Regions from separate parts of the Homo sapiens genome. Here regions 2 and 3 are each linked to region 1. Evidence: promoter capture Hi-C in 16 types of primary human blood cells and fetal thymus (Javierre and others, 2016). All regions are on one chromosome and are shown on one strand. The core of a region is centred on a gene start or on the middle of the fragment in contact, and the rest is flanking DNA. Distances in the headings are between cores, read along the strand shown.

What was found. Contacts are between HindIII fragments. The CHiCAGO score rates a contact against its expected background, and 5 or more counts as called.
Region 2: a fragment that was not itself captured here is called in contact with the fragment with the promoter of ARHGAP31-AS1 in region 1 in 1 of 17 cell types (megakaryocytes); the score reaches 5.1 in megakaryocytes.
Region 3: a contact is called between the fragment with the promoter of TEX55 here and the fragment with the promoter of ARHGAP31-AS1 in region 1, in 10 of 17 cell types (non-activated CD4 T cells, naive CD4 T cells, total CD4 T cells and 7 more). The highest score is 14.9, in non-activated CD4 T cells.

What each region holds. Positions count from the first base shown.
Region 1 is chr3:119,321,116-119,324,525 of GRCh38, forward strand. ARHGAP31-AS1 (ARHGAP31 antisense RNA 1) reads right to left here and starts at 1,645. Exons shown (of 2, transcript NR_046748.1): 1 at 1,499-1,645. All of the region lies in intron 1 of ARHGAP31 (Rho GTPase activating protein 31), which reads left to right. RefSeq lists enhancers at 1,316-2,173, 2,174-3,030 and silencers at 1,593-1,952, 2,003-2,352. The HindIII fragment of the contact is 4,466 bases long and covers 1-3,410 here.
Region 2 is chr3:119,492,460-119,495,869 of GRCh38, forward strand. It overlaps POGLUT1 (protein O-glucosyltransferase 1), which reads left to right. Exons shown (of 11, transcript NM_152305.3): 11 at 1-2,249. Among named protein-coding and RNA genes, the nearest start is that of TIMMDC1, 4.4 kb to the right of the region's middle. The HindIII fragment of the contact is 3,644 bases long and covers 52-3,410 here.
Region 3 is chr3:119,144,622-119,148,031 of GRCh38, forward strand. It overlaps TEX55 (testis expressed 55), which reads left to right and starts at 1,544. Exons shown (of 3, transcript NM_152539.3): 1 at 1,544-2,966. The coding sequence starts at 1,569. It also overlaps a transcript of IGSF11 not described here. RefSeq lists a silencer at 801-1,095. The HindIII fragment of the contact is 11,642 bases long and covers 1-3,410 here.

The DNA of each region.
Region 1 (3,410 bases), core at 395-2,894:
CAGATGTATAAACATTGACCCATCCTCTTTAACTTCCATATACCCTTTTTAAATTGCAGAAAAATCATTCAATTAGTGGAAAAATTGCTCAAGTAAATTTTATCATCTTTCACCCAGGCCCGGTGATTTCCTATTCAGCAGCAATTTCACATATATATATATACTATATATATATATATAGTATATATATATGTATTATGTATATATAATTATATACTATATATGTAAAATTTTAAAATCAATGTTTTCATACTTTTTAATAATACATGCTTATCCTCATTGTAGATAAATTGGGAAATACATAAATGTTTTAGAAAGAAAAAAATACTTGTATGTAATTCTATCACCCAAAGATGTAACATTTTGGTGGATTTCCTTCAAGTGTTTTTTTTCTATGTACATTTTCATATTGTGATTACACTGTGTGTGTGTATATATATATTATATATATATATGATTTTGTGTCTTGCTTTCTTATAACCGAAGTCTTTATTCAAGTTATAAAACCCTACATATAACATTTTAAGGCTCCGTAGGTTTTGTTTTGTTTTGAGACGGAGACTCGCTCTGTTGCCCAGGCCAGAGTGCAGTGTCACGATCTCAGCTCATTGAAGCCTCTACCTCTCGGGCTCAAGTGATTTTCCTGCTTCAGCCTCCCAAGTAGCTGGAACTATAGGCCCACACCACCACGCCCAGCTAACTTGTTTTTGTATTTTTAGTGGAGACGGGGTTTCGCCATGTTGGCCAGGCTGGTCTTGAACTTCTGACCTCGGGTGATCTGCCCGCCTCAGCCTCCCAAAGTGCTGGGATTACAGGCGTGAGCCACCACGCCCGGCCCATAGTAGTTTATCATATAAATATGCCAGTTTATTCCCTGCCTCCATTACTGGACATTTATAGTTATGATTGTTTTAATTTTATGAACAAGCCCACAGTGAATATTGTGAGGCATATGGCTCTTTTGTTATGTAATATTTCTTTGGAATAAACTCCCAGAAGTAAAATTGCTGGATTAAAAGGTGTGTTATTAGTCAGAACTCTCTTGGTTGTGACTGAAGGAACTCTGACATAAGAAAAAAAGTGGGGGTTAATTACTGATTCATAGAAGCAAACTTTGGCAAAGACAAGAAGGGAGCTGGCTTTAGGGAGCTGGGACCAGAGGCTGGAATTTTAACCTCCTGACTTTCTCCTTGTCTCTTGAATTTATCTTAGACATAAATGAAAATAGAGGTAACTCAAAGCGTCTAACCCACAGTGACAATTGCTGCTCTGTTTTTAGAGCCGGGATTTTGTTCGTGGACTTGCCTTGCCTGGTGGTTGAACTTTGCAGCCCCTTCCTCCTCCGGGCAGCTTCTCTCAGTGGCAGCTGTGTTCCCCATGGTTTGTCCTGGATGTCTCCCTTGTGCCATCCTTGCAAGCCCGCGGCCAGCGCCTCCACCCACGCTCCGGCCTTGCTCCCACTCCCACCGCTCTGCCACCTCCCACCTCAGCCTCCCACCTTGGTGTGGAGGGACCAGCGTCGAAGACAAAGGAATCTCTGACGAGAACCGGCCAGTCCGGGAGGGACGGCGGGGAAGGGGGTGCTGCTCTGGCGGAGCCCTCACTTCACTCGCTTCCCCTCGAGCGCCCCTCTAGGCTGGGGCCCGGCCGCTCTGGGCCTGCTCCTCCTCCCGCTCCTGTTGCGGGGCACCAGGTCAGACCCTACAGGGGGCTCCGCCAGGGGGAGGGGGAGAGGGGCTCCCTTCAAACTCGGCCCGGCCGCGGGGGTCCCGGGTGCCCTCTGCTGGGCTCCTTCCACGTCCTTGTCCCTCCTGAACTCCCGTTCCAGCCCTGCCCCCGCCCCGCAGTAGGGAACGGACTCGTTTCTGCCCCGCCCCGGGGTCCGGGCGCCCGCCCGGCGCTTCAGCTTCAGCAACGTCAAGGCCACGTTCCCTCCGCTCCAGCTCGAAAGACGGTGGCGCTGACTCTGCTCTGCGCGCCGCAGCTTCCTCCCGCTGCTCCGCCCAGCGGTTTCTGATCCCCTTTCGGCGCTGGGGACTCACACGCTGCGGCGACAGGAAAGCCCGCGCCCCCGGCCGCTTCCCGGAACGCCCTCGGGGACGGCTGAGTCACTTGGCGCCCGCCCGCGCGGCCACCGAGCCCAGAAGCGGGGAAAGCCCAGAAGCGGGGAAACCCCAGGGACAGCCGCCGGCCCTGGGGGCAGCCAGCGCTCCAGGCCGCCCAGCACCTCGGGCCCGGATGGGCTTCTCGCGCCCCAGGGCTGCGGCCACACCCCGCCGGCCCAGACCCCGCGGGTAGAGAAAGGAGGTGCAACCCTGAGAGCCAAGACGTTGGGCTTGGCTTTGCTTTGCGTTTCTTTCCTTTTTTCTTTTGTTTCTTTTCTTCTTCTTTTTTTTTTAACCACATCCAGGAAGAGGAGAAACCTGTCTCATGACAGGAAACGAAGAGGGAGGATGCATCCGAACTGAGGGACATTGTTTCAGTTGCCTCACCTGACATACTGTCTCACCTGAGAGAGGGAGGCCGAAGAGGCAGCCAATGGTGGCTGGAGCAAGCCCTGTCCTCGTTACCTGGGCTGTGGCTGAGCCCTGGGGCTCACCGGCTGTATGGCCCTGGGCAAGTCCTCGGAGCCTTAGGTTCTCTGCAAAATGGAGATGATGTTTAATAGAAAATGTTTCTATAACTTTTGTGGCTTACTTTTTGAAAAGCGAGGGAGGGACTTTTGTCCTTCCCTCCTCGCATCTCAGTCGCAGTGCTGGTTCACAATCAGGCTGTTAACGCGGTTTCCACATTTCCTGTCCTCCCCCTTCCCCTTTCCTGCTGGGAATAAGAAGGTGGGCCCCCAAGGAGACAGAGGGTACACTCGTAAATGAAAAAGAAAAGTCAGCACAAGGACCCTTTGCTGCGGAGATTTCTTTTTCCAGGTATCCTAAGTGGGGCTCTTGCCATCCCTGCCATCCCTGCTCTACACCGAAGGGGTGAAGTCCTGGGACTCTGTTATGCCCATCTGTATGTAATCCTAGGCAAGATTATTACAGTAGCGCTTTCCTCTTTTTAGAATATACCCTTGTCTAGCCCCTACCCCATCTTCAGGACAGTAAAGGTTCTCAACTCACTTCAAACCCTCCTAGCCGTCTAGAACAGTGGCTCACAACCGCAGACCCATAGGAAATGTAGGGCCATCTATGTAATAAATTTATCCGGATGTATTATAACAATTTTAAGGTTACACTTGTCCTTTCTTGAACAGGACAATTCTTTATTCTAAGACTATATGCTTCATAGTTTTAGTTATTTTGAATTGTCCATTCTGTTATGAAATACGATAGTTATTGTTGGTTGATGTCCTCTCTCAGAAAAATAAAAAATTAGCAGTCCTAGGTAGATCCCCCAAAATCTTTTAAACTTGA
Region 2 (3,410 bases), core at 624-3,123, 170 kb after region 1:
CCTCTTTGTGGCAACAGATCTCAGATATCCTACGGTGAGAAGCTTACCATAAGCTTGGCACCTATACCTTGAATATCTGCTATCAAGCCAAATACCTGGTTTTCCTTATCATGCTGCACCCAGAGCAACTCTTGAGAAAGATTTAAAATGTGTCTAATACACTGATATGAAGCAGTTCAACTTTTTGGATGAATAAGGACCAGAAATCGTGAGATGTGGATTTTGAACCCAACTCTACCTTTCATTTTCTTAAGACCAATCACAGCTTGTGCCTCAGATCATCCACCTGTGTGAGTCCATCACTGTGAAATTGACTGTGTCCATGTGATGATGCCCTTTGTCCCATTATTTGGAGCAGAAAATTCGTCATTTGGAAGTAGTACAACTCATTGCTGGAATTGTGAAATTATTCAAGGCGTGATCTCTGTCACTTTATTTTAATGTAGGAAACCCTATGGGGTTTATGAAAAATACTTGGGGATCATTCTCTGAATGGTCTAAGGAAGCGGTAGCCATGCCATGCAATGATGTAGGAGTTCTCTTTTGTAAAACCATAAACTGTGTTACTCAGGAGGTTTCTATAATGCCACATAGAAAGAGGCCAATTGCATGAGTAATTATTGCAATTGGATTTCAGGTTCCCTTTTTGTGCCTTCATGCCCTACTTCTTAATGCCTCTCTAAAGCCAAAAAAAAAAAAAAAGACAAAGCCTCTTAATAAATTTAATGGAACTATACATAGAACAGCAGCTCTTCCTCACCCTTTGCATACCTTTAATATTTTTCCTTCTTAAATTGGCCACAGCAGGGGTCATTCACACTCTCACTGTCTTGCAGGAATCACAAGAAGTCTTCATATGTGAACGTGCCATTCAGTTGGTAGTTAAGAGCATTCAACTTCAAATATATAGAAGATATTTGTTTTAGTGCAAATCCATGATGGAGTGCCTCCCTTTTCCTTTTTTCACTTTTTGAAAAAGATGTTTTGGGTAGTAGTTTAATATCTCAGGGTGCTCTTTCTAACATAGTAAAAAATGAAGAAAAATGTTTAGATTAAAACTCTGTAGTCTGATGACTTAGAACCATCCTTGACCCTTAGGCCCAACCTTTCCACAGAGAAATCACCTCTCTTCCTTTGTCTTTTAAGAACTATTTGGTATTAACTAGTTTCAGAATTAGTAAATGTGAGATTCAGTCACATAATTATCAGACATTCCATTTGTCAGAAATGTATTTGGCTTTTTAAACTCCTTTCCACAAAAGTTTAAGTCTAATGACCTTCTTAGAGAAGTTGAGCATGCCTGGCAAGATCATTTCATGGAATAAGCAGATGTTTAAAGTTGGATTTTTTTTTTTTTTTTTTTTTGAGTACTAGCAATGCACAGGGACCGTGTTCTTAGGTTCTTAGTCTGTGAATCTAGCAATAGGCAGTCCAGATTTCTGAGTCGTACTATGGTTTTGCCTTGTCACTGTGAGGCCCTACTAGGTGTAAGCATTCTCTCTGAATTTTAATTTCCTCTCATTAAAATAGGAACAAAATTTGCTATCCTTTAGATTAGGAGCTGAAGATTCATTTCCCTGGGAATGTTTCCCATTTAGCTTCAAGTTTCAGCTCAAACATCACCTTCTTTCTGACTCCTTTCATTCATTCCTCCAGGCAGTAAGGGGCTACCATAGTACTTTGTTTATGCCTGTATTATATGACATCACTGTAGTTGCTTGACTGTTTCTCCTACTGTTCTGTAAACTTATTAATGGGTGAGAATCTAATTTTACTCATCTTGATGGCTTCATGATCCAGCACAGTGCCTCACACAAAGAACTATTGGGTGGGTGGATGGATGGATGGAGGAATGGAGACAGTTGGCTTAACCAGATCCTATATACAGATTATTACTGGCTCCAAAGGATGAGTAGATAAGACCATAAGAATTGGATCAATGTAAATCCTCACCTGCCCTTTGAAGAGCCAATAAGGGCATCTTTGTCTTTAAATACAGCAAATGTTATTCAGATTTTGTACTTGTCTATCTGTTTACCTCAGTGTAGATGATATGAGGATGGTATAACTATGTAAATTGTTTTTGAAAATAATTTGTTTCCCCACAACTTTTGAAGGTTTTATTTGTTGTTGTTATTACTAGTTCAGTCCCAAACTTACCCTTTCCTTTTCAGAGAGCTAATGGCCATGCTTTTCTTCAAGGAAAGAATAATTTATTTGAATGAAGTGGGATACTTGCATAACACAAATAATGCTTTGTCTTTATTTATTTCGGGAGTGTTATCTATGTGCTGTCAGTGACCCACCTTATTCTACTATATCAGTTCAGATTTTCCTAGTGGTCAAGAACAGAAACTGCCTCTAGCTAGTTTAAGCAAAGTAACTTACTAGAAGGACATGAGGGCATCTCGTGGAATCTAAAAAGGTTTCACAGTGGTTAGAAGGATAGAAGCAAGGGCACCTCCAGGAATCTCAGCAAGAATTTTGACTGTTTCCAGGGTGCTACTATAATGCAGTTCCATTACCTATTGGGCTCTGTCTCAGCTCAAAATTCCCAAGGACAAAAACTTTAATGGACTCATTTGGGTCACCTCCAAGAGTTCCCTACACTTAACCCCTAGACTGACTACAAACAAGAGCACAAACAGGCCAGACACAGTGGTTCACACCTGTAATCCCAGCTCTTTGGGAGGCCAAGGCAGAAGAATCACTTGAGCCCAGGAGTTCAAGACCAGCCTGGGCAACATGGTGAGACCTCGGCTCTACAAAAAAAAAAAAAAAAAAAAAAAAAAAAAAAAAAAAAGAGGCAGGAAGATAGCTTGAGTTCGCAATGTTGAGGCTGCAGTGAGCCATGATCATGCCACTGTACTGTACTTCCACCTGGGCAATGGGAATAAGACCCTGTTTCTCAAAAAAAAAAAAAAAAAAAGCACAGATACACAAAAGTCTATCTTTACATGCATCTAAAGATGCCCTCTCTTAGGATAATCTTACTGCATCCAGAGGTAAGGTGTTGTGGATGGAGCAGAGAGTTATATTTACAAGTCACTCATTTAATACTTACCAGATACTTCTTAAGCATCTACTATGCACAGAGACAAGGAAAGTTTACAAGAGGCTCCCAAACCTCAAGGGGCTGTGCCGTTGAGATGATAAACAATATGAGAGGCATCATACATACGTGGAAGGTGATTAAGGCAACAGGAGTGCCAATTATTCATGAAGACAATGTGGATCTGGAGTTTAGAGGAAGAATAAACTTCCAACTGGAGCAGATGGGAAACTTTGTGGAGGTAAAAATTAATTTATACCATGAAGGATAAGTAAATGAAATGGTTCTTGGAGTTCTCAAAATTCATTCTCTCTCCACATGTTGAAAAGTTTTATATCATATATAATGTAACAAAATG
Region 3 (3,410 bases), core at 294-2,793, 180 kb before region 1:
ACACTTGAGAGATGCAGCAAAAGCATCAGCTCAGAGGGAAATTTGTAACTATAAAACAGCTACATTTAAAAAAAAGATCTCAAATTGATAAATCATCATTTTGTAAAATATATACATACCTATAGATATAGACACATAGATTTGCATGGGGGTATTTCCAGAAGGATAAACATCAAAATGTCAATACAGGTTATCTCTTGAGTGTTTGGGAATTTTTTTCTTTACGCTTTCTTTTTTATATTTCTATGATTATTACATTTAAGTTATAAAATGGAAAAATAAATCTCCAAAACCAATAGCACTTTGAAGCTACAAGCCATAGCCCAAGACCTATTTTACTCTAAACACAGTATCCAATGGTGTCATGCATTTTTAAATAAATAAGGTAGATAATTCATAAAGTGACATTCAACAAGCACTTCTTGAGCACCTATTATGTTCTAGGCACTGTTACATAAATGACTTTACTTCAGTGTGCTTAGATTCCCCTTTCCATTCCTAAGTATGGTGTCAAGTGTATCCACTCTCCTTTGTCACAAGTATTTGAATTTGGATTTTAAGTCTCATTTCTAATTGTTTAATGCAGTTAAATCCCTACTAAAGGAATATCTGGCATCACACTACCAACCCTTGGCCTGCCTCAGTGATTTCAGGCTTTGCAAGGTCAAAGTAATTTGTCTCATCAATCACCACCTCTGTACTGGCCTACTCCTGAAAGTAGACAGCCTACTGACTCTGAGGTGCATTCTTAAGGTTGATTGCAAAGTGGGAGGACCAAATCTCAAAAACTGGGCCCCACTGGCCAACACTATCAAATACAAATTCTCCACTTGCTAAATATTCCTTCTGGTATCTTTCTCCCACTTTCCTTACTCCCTTCCTTTCTGGAACTCTGATTTGGCCTCCTTCTAACTCGCCTCTCTGCTGTAAGACCACTAGATGGTGCAGTTTTAGAACCCATTCTCACTGGATCTTCTCTCCTCTCTCTGGCTCTCCCGCCACAGATCACATGTCTAATCCAGCAAGAAAACACCTTGGGGCAGGAGTTTCCACTGCCAAGACAGCTATACCCAAAGGGGATGGCAATAGCAACAACCTCTGTTCAGTTTTGTGGTCCTCGTGCAGCTGGTTGTGTGTTCATCTGTTGACATTTGGAGGTGCGGTGGGGGATGTTAATCAGAGGAGCAGTACCTGAGAGAGGGCCTCTTTCTCACACACTGCGGAGAACCTCTGTGAACAAGGAAGAGGGTAACACTCTAGGTGGCGATGCACGGAGCCCCGTGGCCTGGTTGCTCGGCAGGGTGAGGAGAAGCTGTAACTGCCAGAGCCTGAGAATCGCCCCTTCTCAGGACATGGCGTACTCCCTGCGCTCGCCTGCACACTGCAGGGTCAGCTGACTGCCGTCCCTCCACTTACAACAGCGGGACGGCCACTCTCCCTGACGCACGCAGTGACCCGAACAAAGCCCGTGGGAATCATGGGGCGTTCCTGGAGGGTCGCCTAGACGACCCAGCCCAACCCCACCCACAGTGCCTGGCAACCTAGACCAGTCAGGGACGCGGCAGGAAATGGAAGAGCCTCCGCAAGAGGCTCTGGCTGAACCCTTGAAACATGAAAGCCCAGCCGCTCCCTCAAGTGCTGGCCACACTAAGGGCCAGGAAGAAGACGACCAGAAGAACCAGGCCGAAAGGAAGGCAGATAACCACACTGCTCACAGAATAGCTGACCAGACTGCCCTAAGAGTGCCTAGCCAGGCTGAATCCAGCATATTTAGCCAAGCTACCAACGGAGTAGCTGAACAAAATGGGCATAGTACACCTGGTCAGGCTGGCCGCAGAGCATCCAACCCTGCTGATGTTTCTGACCTTAGAGCAGATGATCAGGTTAATCAAACACCGTCTGAACAGACTAAAGGCAAGGCATCTAGCCAAGCTAATAATGTACAGCATGAACAGAGTGATGGTCAGGTGTCTGGCCTGACGGAGGAAAGAACTGCTGAACAGACTGAACGAAGATTACCTACCCAGGCTGAGAGAAGAACTTCTGGGCAGATTGATGGTAGACTGGCTATGCCATCTGACCAGAGAGGTTCCAGACAGACCGACCACAGAATGGCAGGCCAGTCTGAGAGAAGAGCTTCCGAGCAGATGGACCGCAGAATGTCTGGCGAGGCTGAGCGAAGAACTTCTGAGCAGATTACACACAGATTATCCAAACTATCTGAGAGAAGACCTTCTGTGCAGATTGACAGTGGGTCATCCGTCCCATCTGACCAAAGTCCTTCTGTACAGATTGACAGTGGATCGTCCGTACCATCTGACCAAAGACCTTCCGTACAGATTGACCGCAGAATGTCAGGGAAAGTTAGGAGAAGAAGTTCTGAGAAGACTGACTACAGATTGGCTGGCCTGGCTGACCCAGGAACTTCTGAGCAGACTGACCTCAGATTGTATGGCCTCGTTGACCACAAAACATCTGTAAAGACTCACCACCAAGTGTACGGCCAAGCCACTGAACTAGCTGAACACCAGGCTATTGACCAAGCTCATAGTAATGCTGATCAACCTCCAGTTGACAATGCTCACTACACTGAATCTGACCAGACTGACCACTTAGCAGACAGACAAGCTAATCATAAAGACCAGCTGTCTTACTATGAAACACGTGGCCAGTCTGAAGACAGAATATTTCCCCAGTTAGGCAACAGCAAAGAGGACAAAGAGGCTGACTACAGAGTACAACCCTGCAAATTTGAGGATAGCCAAGTAGACCTCAATTCCAAGCCTTCAGTTGAAATGGAAACTCAGAATGCAACCACTATCCCACCCTACAACCCAGTTGATGCCAGATTCACCAGTAACTTCCAAGCAAAAGACCAAGCTCTTTTCCCAAGACTCCCCTCCATCTCATCCAAATTGAACTATACCAGCAGTCAAGAAAAAACTCAAGCCATAGTAACCAAATCTGTAAGTTAAATGGGCATTTGATACCTACCTGGGAGATCAGAGATCTAGACGGGGCCTGGAGAGTAAAAATAGGGGTACAACGGAAGGGCACATGTTGCATCAAGGATAAAGAATAAACCCACATGTTGTGGTATGTGTGACCCATAATTTCAGGAAGGGCAAGAGAAGGATGGGAAATAAAAGAGAATTATTGCCTTCTCTACTACCCAAAGGCCATTCAGGAAGGATTAATAAACCAGGATTCAGGAAACCTGCATTTTAAGTCCTAGTTCTGCAACTAACTCTGTGATATTAAGTCATTTTCCCTCTCTGGGCTTCTACCAGGAGAAGGGAATTTGGAGTTGATTAGACATCCCTGTGAAGGAAAAAGTACTTGAAGTTGATTGGCAATGCCTAAGGTACCTCCCAGGACATGAGGTGCATTATATTGCACCTGGAGACCTG